Linked DNA regions of Homo sapiens: region 2 is linked to region 1. The links are contacts of gene promoters, found by promoter capture Hi-C in human tissues and cell types (Jung and others, 2019). All regions are on one chromosome and are shown on one strand. The core of a region is centred on a gene start or on the middle of the fragment in contact, and the rest is flanking DNA. Distances in the headings are between cores, read along the strand shown.

Region 1 (6,866 bases), core at 1,501-4,000:
AGGCGCCTGTAGTCCCAGCTACTCGGGAGGCTGAGGCAGGAGAATGGCGTGAACCCAGGAGGCGGAGCTTGCAGTGAGCCTACACAGCACCACTGCAGTCCGGCCTGGGCGAAAGAGCGAGACTCTGTCTCAAAAAACAAAACAAAACAAACAGAAAAAGGTTTACATAATGGACAAGGAAAACAACAAGGGAGTTGAGGCACCCAGGGACTAGCAAACCATTATCACCCCTAAGACTGAAAAGACAAAGGGAAGGACATGTTTTATTAGAGTGTGAGAGGACTGGAGCTCCAGGGGCTCCCCTGATGATGCAGAGGGCCAGTGCATCAGCCAAACGGTGCTGAGAGAGCAGGAATATCCCATTCTCTCCCTCTTCTATTGACTAAACAGAACCTGAAGCTGGAGGGCATGTCTGACTGATGTCAGTCCAAGGGGAGGACAGAGAATGGATGCAGGAGGAGAGAACTTGCTCACACCCATACTTGCCTTTCCCCCAAGCACCCTCTATGCTAGTGATCAGCAAACTTCTTCTGTAAAGGCCCAGATAGTAAATATCTTAGGCTTGGCCGGCTAGACGGTCTCTATCACAAATACTCAACTTTGGCAGTTGTAGCACAGATAATGTGTAAACACATTAGCGTGACTGTGTTCCAATAAAACTTTGTAACACTGAGATGATTTTCAGGTAACTTTTCACATCACACAATATAATTCTTTTGACTTAAAAAAAACTACCTGAAAATGTAAAAACTGTTCTCAGGCTACATCCAAGAATGGCAGACTGAATTTTGCCAGGGACTGTAGATTTCAGATTCCTGCTCTACACTACAGCCATTGATCTTTGTAAAACCCCAGTCAGTTCACTGTGTCCCCTGCTTGAACTTTTATGTATTCCCAATGGCCTTAGGATAATAAGCCAAATCATGTAGTCTATGAGGACTGCATAGTCTGGCCCTACATATATTTCCATCCCCACTGTCTATACTTCAGCAGCAAGGAACTCTCTGGGTTTCTCTTTCTCAACATCATGCTGTCTCCACATCTTTAGAATACTCTGCTCTCCACTCTCTATCTAGTTCATTTGCAGATCTCAGCTCACTGCAACATTATTTATAATAGCAAACAACAAAATGAAACGGGGTGGGGGCATAACATTCCCAACACTAGGGAAGTGAATCATGGAACACCAGGCAGCCATTTTATAATTGTAGACTAATGAGAAACAATGTTGATTAGATATTAAGAGAAAACACGCATGTTACAGTAATACCTATTATTTCATATTGTCGTAATACATTTATACATATATATGTAGGTGGAAAAAATCTTGAAGGGAATGCACCAAGCTGTTCAAAGTGATAACTCATGGGTAATGGGGTTATGGGTGGTCTTTTCCTTTTTGCTTATCTATATTTTCTAAAATAAACATGTATTAAGAAAAATCAATATGAATTCAAAAAATATCAACTTAACTAAAAAAAACCCCTTAATTTCAGGTGAATATGTCAGCAAGTTATGAAGTTATGTGAGGGCTGGGGAAGGAAAGGAGAGGTTTTCACAGTTTGATCTAATTCAAAACTAAATCTGTGAAATACTCATTTCCTAAAATCACTCAGGATAAGTGTGTGATATTTTGGTGGACATATTTTAGTTCCTGGGCTTTGACATTAATTGTAACAGACTTTTAAAGCGTAGCTCTTTTCTCCATTAAAAAGAAATGAGGCCGGGCATGGTGGCTCACCACTGTAATTCCAGCACTTTGGAGGCCAAGGCGGGCGGATCACCTGAGGTCAGGAGTGTGAGACCAGCCTGGCCAACAGGGTGAAACCCTGTCTCTACTAAAAATACAAAAATTAGCCGCGTGTGGTGGCACGCACCTGTAATCCCAGCTCTTCAGGAGGCTGAGGCAGGAGAATCGCTGGAACCCAGGAGGCAGAGGTTGCAGTGAGCTGAGATTGCGCCACTGCACTCCTGCCTGGGTGACAGTTGAAATGGAATAAACTGAGTTATCTCTCTTCAACTTGATTTAAATCATTAACCCAAAACTCAATGCCTTAAAAACCAATGACTAAAATCCTCATTAAAATGAGTGCACATGCCAATACTAAGAATGTTGTGTCATTTTTCATCAAAAGTAATTACCTCAACATAAGAGGAGACAAGTACGCATGGAAGTAAACCCAAAATCCCAACTAATGAACACCGTTCTGAGATCAGTGGCCACAGGGAATAATTCTGCAATTTCCATCACACGCAAAGGTAACAACCCCGAGGTCTTATTTTTATAGAATATCAAGAACAAAATCTTCCAAAAGGCACACGATGCCAAACTAAAAATAAAGAGCGAAAACCCAAAAAGTCGCGCTCAATTCCTTCTGAAACCTATTCGCCTCCTACCCCTGTCCCATCCTCTGGCGCTGGCGGGTCCTCGTCCCCGTTTTCCCCACCGCAAGTCCTGGAACCTCCGCTTAACTCTTTTCTCGGCGGCTCCGCCCCGGCCCCGCCCCAGCCATGCCTTGGCCCCGCCCCGTTCGCCGTTTATTGGCTTCTCCCAACCCCTGCCGGTGGGTGACAAGCCGGGAAGCTTGGAGGGGTCTATTGCGTACGCCCAAGGCGCTGGGCCTGGAGCAGGAGAAAGGGAGTGGAGGCGCGTCGGAGACTATGAAGCGCGGCATTCGGCGGGATCCTTTCCGGAAGCGGAAGCTCGGCGGGCGGGCCAAGAAGGTCCGGGAGCCCACGGCGGTTAATTCTTTTTACCGTGAGGCTTCACTTCCCTCGGTCTGGGCTTCTCTGAGGCGGCGAGAGATGGTCAGGTCTGGAGCTCGACCGGGCCAGGTGAGGGCTGAGGACCTGAGGAGTCCGCTGTGGGGATGGAGAGGGACAGGGGGGTTTTCGGGCCAGGAACTTGTAAAACTCTGCTCGAAAAAAGACAAAGACAATGCGGCGACATTAAAGTGCTGGGACAGAGGTGCAGGGAACACCTAATCTTCCCGTCGTAACACGGCCGCTCGGTCTCTAGATGTTTCTGTTTAAATCGTCGTAGCCCTAGTCTAGAGCGCCGGCTTTGGGGTCAGGCCCGGGTTCGAGTCCCAGCCTTCGCCGCTGCGTCGAGTGACTTAACCTCTCCTAGCTTCAGTCACCTGCAGATTGAGAGTCTACTACTTTTTACTGCTCAGAACTTCCTATTCCTTAGCTGCAAAATAGGCAGAAATAAGCATAAAATCCTGTCTCAAAGAATTGAGAAGGTTAAATAAGAGAACCCGGTAAAAACATCGATCACACAGTTGTTGTAGACATACAACAAAATTTAGTTCCCTTTAAAACACGTAGTTTGCCACCATCTTAATGATAACAGCAGCCAACATTTAGATAGGACTTATGTGGCAGATGCTACTGTAAGTGCTTTTATGTATTACATAGAATAACTCATTTAATAGTCACGATATCCTTATGAGGTAAGTACTATTATCCCTATTTTATATATGAGGAAATCGAGGGCTGGAGGATTCAAATAACTTGGCAGTTACACAGCTGTGGAAACAAGATTCAGACTCACAAAACTGATGCCAGAGTCCATTCTTCTTTTAAACATTTTACCTAGTAGATGTATGACTTTGAACAAACCACTTTTCTGAAATTTAGGTTCCCACCTCACAAATAATAACTCACAGGGTATGGATTAAGTGAAAATGAAAGACCTTAGCACACTGTAAGTCATTCTACAAAGGCAGTATTATCTTGTACTTGTTGGTAGGAGATATGACTACTAAGAAATGCTTATATGATTCTCAAATAGCAAAATTAAAAGTTTAATGATAATAACCTCGTAGAAGTAAGTGTAAAATAAAGCAAACTGATTCTCCTGTATTGTGATTAGGACACTCCTTTTGGAGAGCAGCTTTGCAGTTTGTATCAAGGGTTATTAAATTGCTAATAACCTTTCACCAAATAATTTTCTTTTTAATCCTAAATATAAAAAGGCTGTTTTCAGTAGATAGAAAGGCTTATTCCAGGTTTGTTTTTTTAATTGTGAAAAATATGAAGCAAACCAAGACCATTATTATATTACTTCCACTGAAGGAAATATTATACAACCATTAAAAATTTATGAATATGAAAAAGATTTAAAAGTAGAAAACACAGGATTTAAAATTGCAAATATCTAGGTATTATGACTAAGTAAAAAATGCATATGAAAAAAGATTGGAGGCCCCAATAGCAAAGAACACATCTAGTACCTAGATCTTGGTTTCCACGTACCACTGTCCACTAAGGAGTCATGGCTTCTTGGAGAAATGACCAACTCCAGGGCTGAGCAGGGGTAATATAAGAAGAGCATGGACACATCAAACTAAAAAGCTTCTGCACAGCACAGGAAATGATTAATGGAGTGAAAAGGCAATCTACAGAATGGGAGAAAATATTTCCAAGCCATGTATCTGATAAATAATATCCAAAATACATATAAGGAATTTCTATAACTCAAAAGCAGAACAACACATAACCTGGTTAAAAAACGAAAAAAGGATTTGAATAGACATTTCTCCAAAGAAAATGTACAGATGGCCAGCAGGTATATGAAAAGATGCTCAACATCACTAATCCAGGAAATGCAAATTAAAACCACAATGAGCTATCACCTAACCCCTGTTAGGATGACATTAAAAAAATGAAAACAAGTGTTGGCAAGGATGTGGAAGAATTGGAACCCTTGTACACTGTCAGTGGGAATGTAAAATGGTATAGCTGCTATGGAAAACAATATGGAGATTCCTCACCAAATTAAATATAGAACTATATCACCCAGCAATTCTACTTCTGGGAATTTATCCAAAAGAATTGAAATCAGGATATAGAAGAGATATTTGCACTCTTGTGTTCATTGCAGCACTATTCACAATAGCCAAATGTGGGAACAACCCAAATTCTATCTGCAGATGAACAGATAAAGAAAATATGGTATATACATACAATGGACTATTATTCAACCTTTAAAAAGAAAGAAATAGCTGTCATATGCAACAACAGAGACAAAACTTGAAGACATTATGCTAAGTGAAATAAGCTAGTCACAGAAGGACAAATACTGCATGATTTTACTTACATAAAGTACCTAAATAGTTAAAACTCATAGAAACAGAATGTGAGCATGGATTGGGCGTGAACCAGAGGGATTTTTGTTTTTTGGGTTTTTTTTTGTAAAGAACAGTATTGGGATAATTGGCAACATGTGAATAAGGTCTGAATATTAGATTGTAATTCTGTATCAATGTTAATTTCCTGGTTTTGATAATTATACTGTGGTTATGTTAGAGAATGGCCTTGTTTTTAGGAAACATTTAGGAGTAAAGGAGTATTGTATCTGCAAACTTAACTCTAATGGTTCAGGCAAAAAGTACTGCTGTGTATATATATTGAGAGAGAATATGGAAAATGTCAAGGTTCACAGAATCTGAGTGAAGCATATATAGGGCATCTTTGTACTATTATTTCATAGTAGAAACTACAAAAAAAAATTGAAAGGAATTGTTCCAATATGACAGTTACTGTTTCAAGGTGCTTTTATCATGGGTAGTTTTCTTTACCAGATTTTCTATAATATAGCCTTGTGTATATTTTTTGGAGAAACACCATATGTAATCTTACAGTTATGCCAGACATATACCTCAGACAGTGTACTTTAATTGTGGTAGTTGTTTTTGGACTCGATCCAGGGTATAGTATTATAGTGTCATGGCTTGGATTTTTTATTATGATTCCAGCCAAGACATCGACATAAATATACCAAAGGGAAGGACCCTGAGAGTGTGATGCAGAGACCAGTGGTGTGATGTTATACAAGGTCTTATTTCCTACATTGTTGGTTCTCACTGCTGGCTTCATGACCCTCCATCATAATCCAAGTTATCTCAAGACGTATAACTCTTACCAACCCAGTTTTTAAAAAATGTATTCTCAGTGACATTCTTAGAAGGATGGAGCACATATTCAAGCATATAATAGAATGCCGTATAACTTTAGAAAGTTTGGTAGTTACAGCTCAAAGCTATCTGGAGATGAAATTAAATATGTGAAGAGAAATTATAAATAAAACTGCCAACAGTGACTACATCTGGAGGGTGGAACTAGGGGGGGAATCAGGGACTTTCTCATGTCTATTTAAAATTATTTTGAATAAAGATTATATTTATCTGATATAAAATTATTAAGATATAAAATAGTATACCATGGAAAGTGTCCCTTCTCGCTCTGTCCCCCAGATACTCTGTTTCCCTCCCCAGAGGCAACCATGATTAACTGTTTCTGGCATAACTCCCAAGATACTGGATGCATGTAAAAGCAAATGCTTATTTTTTCCTGTTTTTCTACACAAAAGGTTGTCCATTATTGTCACTTTTAAAACAAAAAAGTTTAAGAAAACAACAGTGGTATATGAATTTAAAAAGAAAAATTAAGACAGTGAGATGTAGATAAAGAGACAGGGTAGAGTTCTCACTTCCTGGTCTAATCAGGCATTCTAAAGAATGTACATAAAAGGAACCAGAGTTAAGAACTCTGTCCTATATCATGAATTAACTTGCATGTTTCAAAGAATTTGGGACTATAGAACATATTTTGGGATTAATATAGTCTGAACTTAGTGTAGTAGTTACTTCTGGTTTAAAATAGTATCTCAATTTCCTTTTCACCTTAAATAGACTTAAGGAACAAATATATGTGTAGTTTGCTTGACGTTTTACATAAAAGAAATTTAATATATGAATTAAATTATAATTGTGTATTTTTAGGATATATCACATTAATTAAAACAGTGAATAATGTGGTACATACATATAATGGAATATATTTGACCTCAAAAAGGAAGA
Region 2 (6,989 bases), core at 3,860-6,359, 150 kb after region 1:
CCTGGCAAATCTCGTTGCACACATGAGGCCCACTGTTGCCCAGTTTGGGACAGAATAAGATTCTGTGGTTCTGTGATTCACTCTTTCCTTGTCAAGTAGCCCAAGCTTTAAAAAGCAAGTGGGAACAGGTGGTTGGGCCAGTGCTGCTCTGTGATGACCTTGCTACGGCCCCCTGACAACTCCCCTGGTGTAGCTGTAGGCCTGGGCTGAGCAGATCTGATCCAGATGCAGGCCCAGAGGGGAACCCTGGGCAGGTAGGGAAAGGAATTTGGGGAGATGGTAAGAAACAGGAGTGGTGGCAACTGGCTTCACAGTATATGTTCCACTCTGCTAGAAATGGCCTCTGCTAGGGGCTAAAGACTCCCCAGAAGTAGTCTTGTCTTAATTACTCTGTGGACATCTTTAAAAGAATCTCATTTTCATCAAAGGGTTTTAAAGAGTGATGCTTAGCCCAGTGTAAAGGGCATAGTCAAGATCTGATCCTGAAATAATATCTCTGCTATCCTAGATGTCAGGAGAAACTAAAAATATCCTCATAACCCTGAGGAATTCTTGGTTTATTGCACCCATCTCTTTTCCCTCTGAACATCCTTCCAGAAAGTGAGAGAGTGAGGAAGTGAGCCAAGAAGCTTTAATTACCCAATCTGCTGACATTATTTTATCTGCGCCACTGATATTAAATCTGCACAGCATTCCACTTAAATCTCAGTGCTAACAGCAGCCTCTACAAACTTGGGCCTTTGTCCTTCTGCTGGCTGTGGCCCATGCTCTGTTTCCCACCCTACTGCACCCTCCTTCAGACTTCTTAAATTCCGAAGCTTTCTGTGGCACCGGAAATGATCTGTCTGTGGAATGTCCATACTTCAGGAAAGTCCCCGATCTGTGTGTGTTTATTCCCAAATTCTGCTCCCCCCAACTCAGCCTGGCTGTTTGTGGTTGAGTTCTGGCACGTGCCCATCATTACAGAAACCTGGATTTGGCAGGGGCATTGTGCCATATTTCTATTATTGGCATATTTGGAGAAGGAGGAGAAAGTCTGTCTAGTTTTTTTTCCCTCTCTTTTATGTACAAATGAAAATTTCTGTCTTATGTTATTAACTTTTCTGGCCAACCAGTGAAATACATCTTCAATTTCAGGTTGGTTCCCTGGAGTGTGGAAGTTTTCTCTTGGTTTAATGTTGACTCTGTCGCCTAATAGCTGGTTCATTTAGCACCCAATTGGTGCTATGGTTATAGCTGCAACAGGCCACATTTAAGGAGGGCTTCCAGGGAACCAGCACTGTGTTGAGGACTTCAGTCCTCATGACCTCTGAGACAAGTGTTGTTACCATCTTCCCCCCATTATAGGGAGGACATGAGCTGAAAGAGGTCCAAGAACTTTGCTGAAGGTCTTGCAGCAGAGCTGGGGCTGGAAGCCAGGCAGTGTGGTGCCAGAGCTGGCTGACTTCAGCGCCTACTTCATGCTTCCATGCATGCATACATATGCCATACATACATATGGGAGACCCATAGGATGTATGCCATCAATGCATACTGATGTGCACACCAGTGCTCCCACCATCCTCCCAGGAAGTGTTGATATCATTATAAAACTCTGTCCTCAGCAAGTGTGTATTAAGAACTTACTGTGTGCAGATCCAAAGATGTACAAACCCAGGTCCTGCTCATAGGCATTGCAGCTGGGGAGACAAGGCCTTGATCTGCAGAATCTGAGCTGGGCTGAGCAGGGGAAGCTTCATCTGTTTTGTTCACTGCTATGTCTCCAGGGACTATTATAGCACCTGGCAGGTAGTAAGCTCTCAAAAACGTGATGAATGAACAAACTTCTAATTAAACAAAGCCATTTACATTTTTACAAATAAATGAAAGAACACATGAATTTCTAAAAAGTTTGAAGGACATAAACTGAGATTAGAGGACAGCCTTTTAAATTATTTACGTTAAGCGGTATAAAAAGCTCCCCATGTTGTCCTCATTTTTCTTACTTTTCATAGGTTGGTGGGCACGATGTGATGGATGGGGTGCTTGTGGACCCATGTCATAGATAGGGCTTTAGAGGCTCTTAGATCCTGCTGGGTGGGGAGGGCTTAGAGAAGAGATGGACCTTGAGGTTGGAGTAGGACTCAGCTGGGTGGAAAAGACCATGGGAGGCATTCCAGAGCTGCCCCCACTGGCAGGATTATACTGGAGAGGGCAGAAGCCTCATGTTTTGCTTGATAGCAATCGTTTTGAACTTCACGACTTCTCGAAGCTTGGATCCTTTTCTGTCTTACTCAATACTTGCCTCACTTCCCAAGGCTTGCCTAACTTGGTTGGGTATCTAAGTGTACATCCCTTCAAACCATGTAGGAATCCCTGGACCTGATACTTGCCTGAATTCTGGCACCAGATCAAGAAGAACAAGCTTAAACGGAGGCTGAGGCAGGAGAGTAAAATACTGGGGAGCCACAAGTCAGCACCAGGCAAGTTGACAGGAATCAAGAGGACCTGGATGCAAGAGCCATAAAATCCCATGCACTCTGACTCAGTAATTGAAGTTCTTGAAATGTATCTTGGGGAAATAATCTAAAGGATTATTATGGAAATAAAGGGGCCAGGTGTGGTGGCTCATGCCTGTAATCCCAGTGCTTTGGGAGGCCAAGGTGGGTGAATCACCTGAGGTCAGGAGTTCAAGACCAGCCTGACCAACAAGGTGAAACCCTGTCTCTACTAAAAATACAAAAATTAGCCAGGCATGGTGTCAGGTGCCTGTAGTCCTAGCTACTCGGGAGGCTGAGACAGGAGACTTGCTTGAACCTGGGAGGTGGAGGTTGCAGTGAGCCGAGATCATGCCGCTGTACTCCAGCCTGGGTAACAGAATGAGACTCCATCTAAAAAAAGAAAGAAAGAAAGAAAGAAAGGATCAGTTTATGTCCATGAAACTGTTTGTTTTAATGAAATTGGAAGCAACCTAAATAGTAAATAACAGGGGCATCATTAAGTTTTGGCTTGTCTACTTGCTAGAATATGATACAGTCACTGAAAATAAGATTTATGAAGAGTGTTCCATATCTGAGGAAAAGCATGAAAAATGAAGGCAATGATAATTTGTATATATAATTTTATTTTTAAAAGTACATACATAGAAACAGATTGGAAAAATATTACAGAAAATTATAGTATTTATATTGGGGGAAAAGTCATTTGTAATCGTACTCACGACCAAACTTTTAGCCAATATTGTTTATTTGTTTATGAATGACAAAAGATGATGAGACAAGGGAACTCGGGTGAGTTCAACATTCCTGTAAAGAGTCAGAAACCAAGACACTGTCTGTCTAGCAAAGGAGTAAGGACAGCTATGAGAACATGTCCAAAATAACCCGGAGTGTGAAATAACAGGTTCCTGGACAGAGGGGACATGAAGCCTGAGCTTGGCCGGAATAGGGTGAATGTGGCCGGGGAAGATACCTTTGTCTTTTGTTTTTCTAGAGGCTTGGTATCTGTAACCAAATTTATCCCTGAGCCCGAGACACAGGAACAGGGCCCATGAGTCAGTGTTTCTGTGGCAGCCTTCTGGGTCAGTGCCTACACAGGCAGGGCAGGCACCAAATTTGACACAGCTGCATGGGGAAGATATCTTTGAAGTCATGTCTTGTGTCTAGACTTAGGGAGACATGGGAGTGATTAGGGTAGAGGTGGCCTTATGTATAGCCCGGCTCCCCTGAATAGTCCCAGCATGAGTATTCAAAGAGCCCTTTCCATTCTCAAGAGCTCTCATTTGGATAATATGTTATGTGGTCACCCTAATTATTGAAAAGGAGGTTGGAGGACATTCTGGGTTGATGACAGTTGCTCTGCTGGTTGCCTCTAGTGCTTAAGAGGCCGTGAATTGTCCGGGCATGGTGGCTCATGCCTGTAATCCCAGCACTTTGGGAGGCTAAGGCAGGCAGATTGCTTGAGGTTGGGAGTTCGAGCCCAGCCTGGCCAACATGGTGAAACCCCGTCTCTACTAAAAATACAAAAATTAGTCAGGCGTGGTCGCACATGTCTGTAATCCCAGCAACTCGGGAGGCTGAGGCAGGAGAATCGCTTGAACCCGGGAGGCAGAGGTTGCAGTGAGCTGAGATCACGTCACTGCATTCCAGCCTGGGCAACAGAGCGAGACTCCATCTCAAAAAAAAAAAAGAGAGAGAGAGACAGTGAATTAAGATTCCCTGACGCAGAGGTGGGCCCAGCCTGATGGAGAAGTGGCCCAGGTGTTGTAGATGAATACAGTTCTGCTGTCTATCCTGATTAAGATAACCAAGGTAATTATTCCCAAGCTGCCCCAGCATGTGGCTAGAATTCATATTTAACTTTGACCCAAGAGCTCCTTTTCCCCTTGCAGTCTTCCTCCCCCATCCCACAAACCTGGTACATGACCATTAAAATCTCAATAAGCAGAAGCTTAAGTAAGGGTAAATAATTTGCCAGCTGAACCTTCCCCTATTTGCAACCTTTTAGCATTAGCAAGTTCTTGACTTTTCATGAAAAAGCCCTGGTATGGCTAGTGCAAAAATCAGTTCAAATGGTAGAGGATGATAACTTTAAGCAGATAGGGACTTGGCCTGAGTGGGCTCTGTTTACTTCCTGCTGTCTGCCCTTTCTTCTATCGGCTCTGTCAAGGCACGTTTTTTGGGAACCCCATTACTGAGCAGACTGCCAAGTTGACCATCAGTGATCTAGCCTGGGAGCCAAGCCTAGGTTCATCTTGCAAGAAAAGTGGGGTGGGATTGTGGAGAAGGCCCCCTTCCCTGTGCCCACAGGAGAATTGGTGTGACCCTGAGTGCCCCAATATGCCTGGCTGGACATCTTGGGAGCACTGCGAAACAGGAGGTAAAGACCTTCACAAAGTATCTCCTCACAGACAGCCTCAGCTCAGTGGGGCCCCCAGTCAACGGAGAAGCCGTGACAGGCACAGCTGACTGGATGTGTGAACAAACAGATTAACAGTTGGCCCTGCATCAGGGATTTCCAAAGTAAAGAGACATCTAGGTCTTTCATAGATGTTTTGTTCAGTTGGTTGGTTGAGGGACACAGGTGACAAGTGTTGGGGCAAACTCTGGCTTTTCCTGGACTTAAGCAAGAAATTACCTTTTGGCACCTGGACACTGTTTTAAGTCTCTAGTTAAGAGATAAGGGGAAACCACTGTCTCACTCAAGAGAGAACGCTCTGCTTTAGAGGCCAGGCTAGATATGGAATTGGCCGGGATCTGTGGAGAGGACACCTGAGCAAGCATGGGCTAATGTCAAACCATAGCTTCCTAGAGAGGTTGGGTGGGGAAACCTGACTTTCAGTGGGGGAGAAAGTACCACTGCAAAGTCTTAAACTGAAACAGGTGTAAGCAAGTTGGTTCTGACCGCCCCTCATTTGGTTTAAGCTTACATCACAAGGAACAGGTGCTGTCAATAATGAATTCAGTTTTTCTCTTGAGCCCAGAAGCAGAGCGGGATGAAGCCATTAAGGTGATAGAACCCAGCCCTGACTAATAGGTATGAGGGGGAACAGAACTGGGGGGCAAGAGTTCTTCAGTGTAGGCGTCCTGAATCTCTATCGCTGACTCTGAGAAGTCCCAGGGGTCTGCTTTCTCTAAGAACAGTTCCATATTGGGTAATGACAAAAAACCAGAGTGAGATTAAAAATGGATTCTTTATATTGAGCGTTAATGATAAAAGCTCCAGGTGATAGCATTCTGTTCAATGTTATATAACTGTTAGAAATGGGGGTTAGTAGTTAGAAGTGAATTGTTAATTTAATAGATATGTTTTTATAGAAAAATGATACAAATAAGTATGTGAAGTACTGCTTTCTGGCCTAATCAATCACACCTGGAGGGGCCTAGCTGGCTGGCTGCTGTGTCCACCAGGTAGAAGCTTACCTAAATTGCTTGAAAGAAAATGTTCTGGCACTAGAATTGCCGTTTCAAAGCTTTACAGGGATGATAAACAACATACTGCTCTTCAGAGCACTATACCAATCTTGTTACTGTTGGCGAGAGAGAGCATCTAACACTCAATAAATGCTAGGCACTCCAGGCTGAATGCTAAAAAAAATGAACTGCTGCCTTTGTTTAGCACAGTGTCCCCGGTAGGGTGTGGAATTTCAAGTTCAGGAGTAGACAAGCATGAAGGGTTTTAGGGCCTTTGAACAGGTCAATGCCCCATTAGCTTTTTAATTTTCCATCCCACTTTCCTGGCTCCTGGGGCTCTATTTTTCTCTTTGATAATCTGTTTTCTCCAATAGGATTCCAAATTCCCTATTGGAAGTTGAGCCTCATATCCTCAAGGCCCATGATCCCTGAGCCAGGTATGAGTGCAGCTAATAGCTGATGGTGGTCCATTGATCTCCCTGTTGGCCCTGCATTTGCCTGTACTTCCCCCTTGCAGCTGATGGAGGATCCTGTGTGGAAGGGCTCCCTCACCCCGAGTGCAAATGGCTCCCTGTTTCAGAAAGGGTTGAGAGGGGACACGCACTTTCTCCTCTCCACTGGAAACCAGCTGAGCTGACACCTCCGAGCAGAAGTTCCTCTTTGTGTTCCTGCTGATGGGCTGTGCTCTCAGTTGATCATTGGTTTTTTCCATACCTTCTCCAGGTTCTCAGAGGTCACCATTTCTTTCCAGTTAGCCCCATTCTAGAAGAGATTTAGGGCTGGGAGAAAAGGAGAAACATGTGTTAGCCTCATTAGTATCTTTGGTGAAGTGTGAGGAGAAAAAGGTAGCCATGATTGCTAGAAAAATGAGACTGTTAAGGGAGAAAAGTGTGTCGATCTCTGTTATCACCCATCATTGCAGATGGCAAAAATCAGTTGTTCTCAGCAACATCACTGACTGCCCTGCAGACAACCTGGAACTGGAGGGTGTCCTTTGGGAGACAGGCAGGGCATGGTGTGGAAGGGCCTGTGTGAGTCACATGAGGACAGCCAAGGGTCTGACTGGACTCCCGGCCAGTCCTGCCACAGGCATTGCAT

What was found. Contacts are between HindIII fragments. The study calls those that stand out against the background at their distance.
Region 2: a fragment that was not itself captured here is called in contact with the fragment with the promoter of CCDC14 in region 1 in 2 of the 25 tissues and cell types used here (IMR-90 fibroblasts and pancreas).

What each region holds. Positions count from the first base shown.
Region 1 is chr3:123,957,113-123,963,978 of GRCh38, reverse strand. It overlaps CCDC14 (coiled-coil domain containing 14), which reads left to right and starts at 2,750. Exons shown (of 13, transcript NM_001366335.1): 1 at 2,750-2,835. The coding sequence starts at 2,806. RefSeq lists a silencer at 2,432-2,742. The HindIII fragment of the contact is 4,558 bases long and covers 1-3,472 here.
Region 2 is chr3:123,810,695-123,817,683 of GRCh38, reverse strand. The region is part of intron 3 of MYLK (myosin light chain kinase); the gene reads left to right. LOC124906346 (small nucleolar RNA SNORA5) reads right to left here and starts at 3,607; the gene lies at 3,477-3,607. The HindIII fragment of the contact is 3,385 bases long and covers 3,417-6,801 here.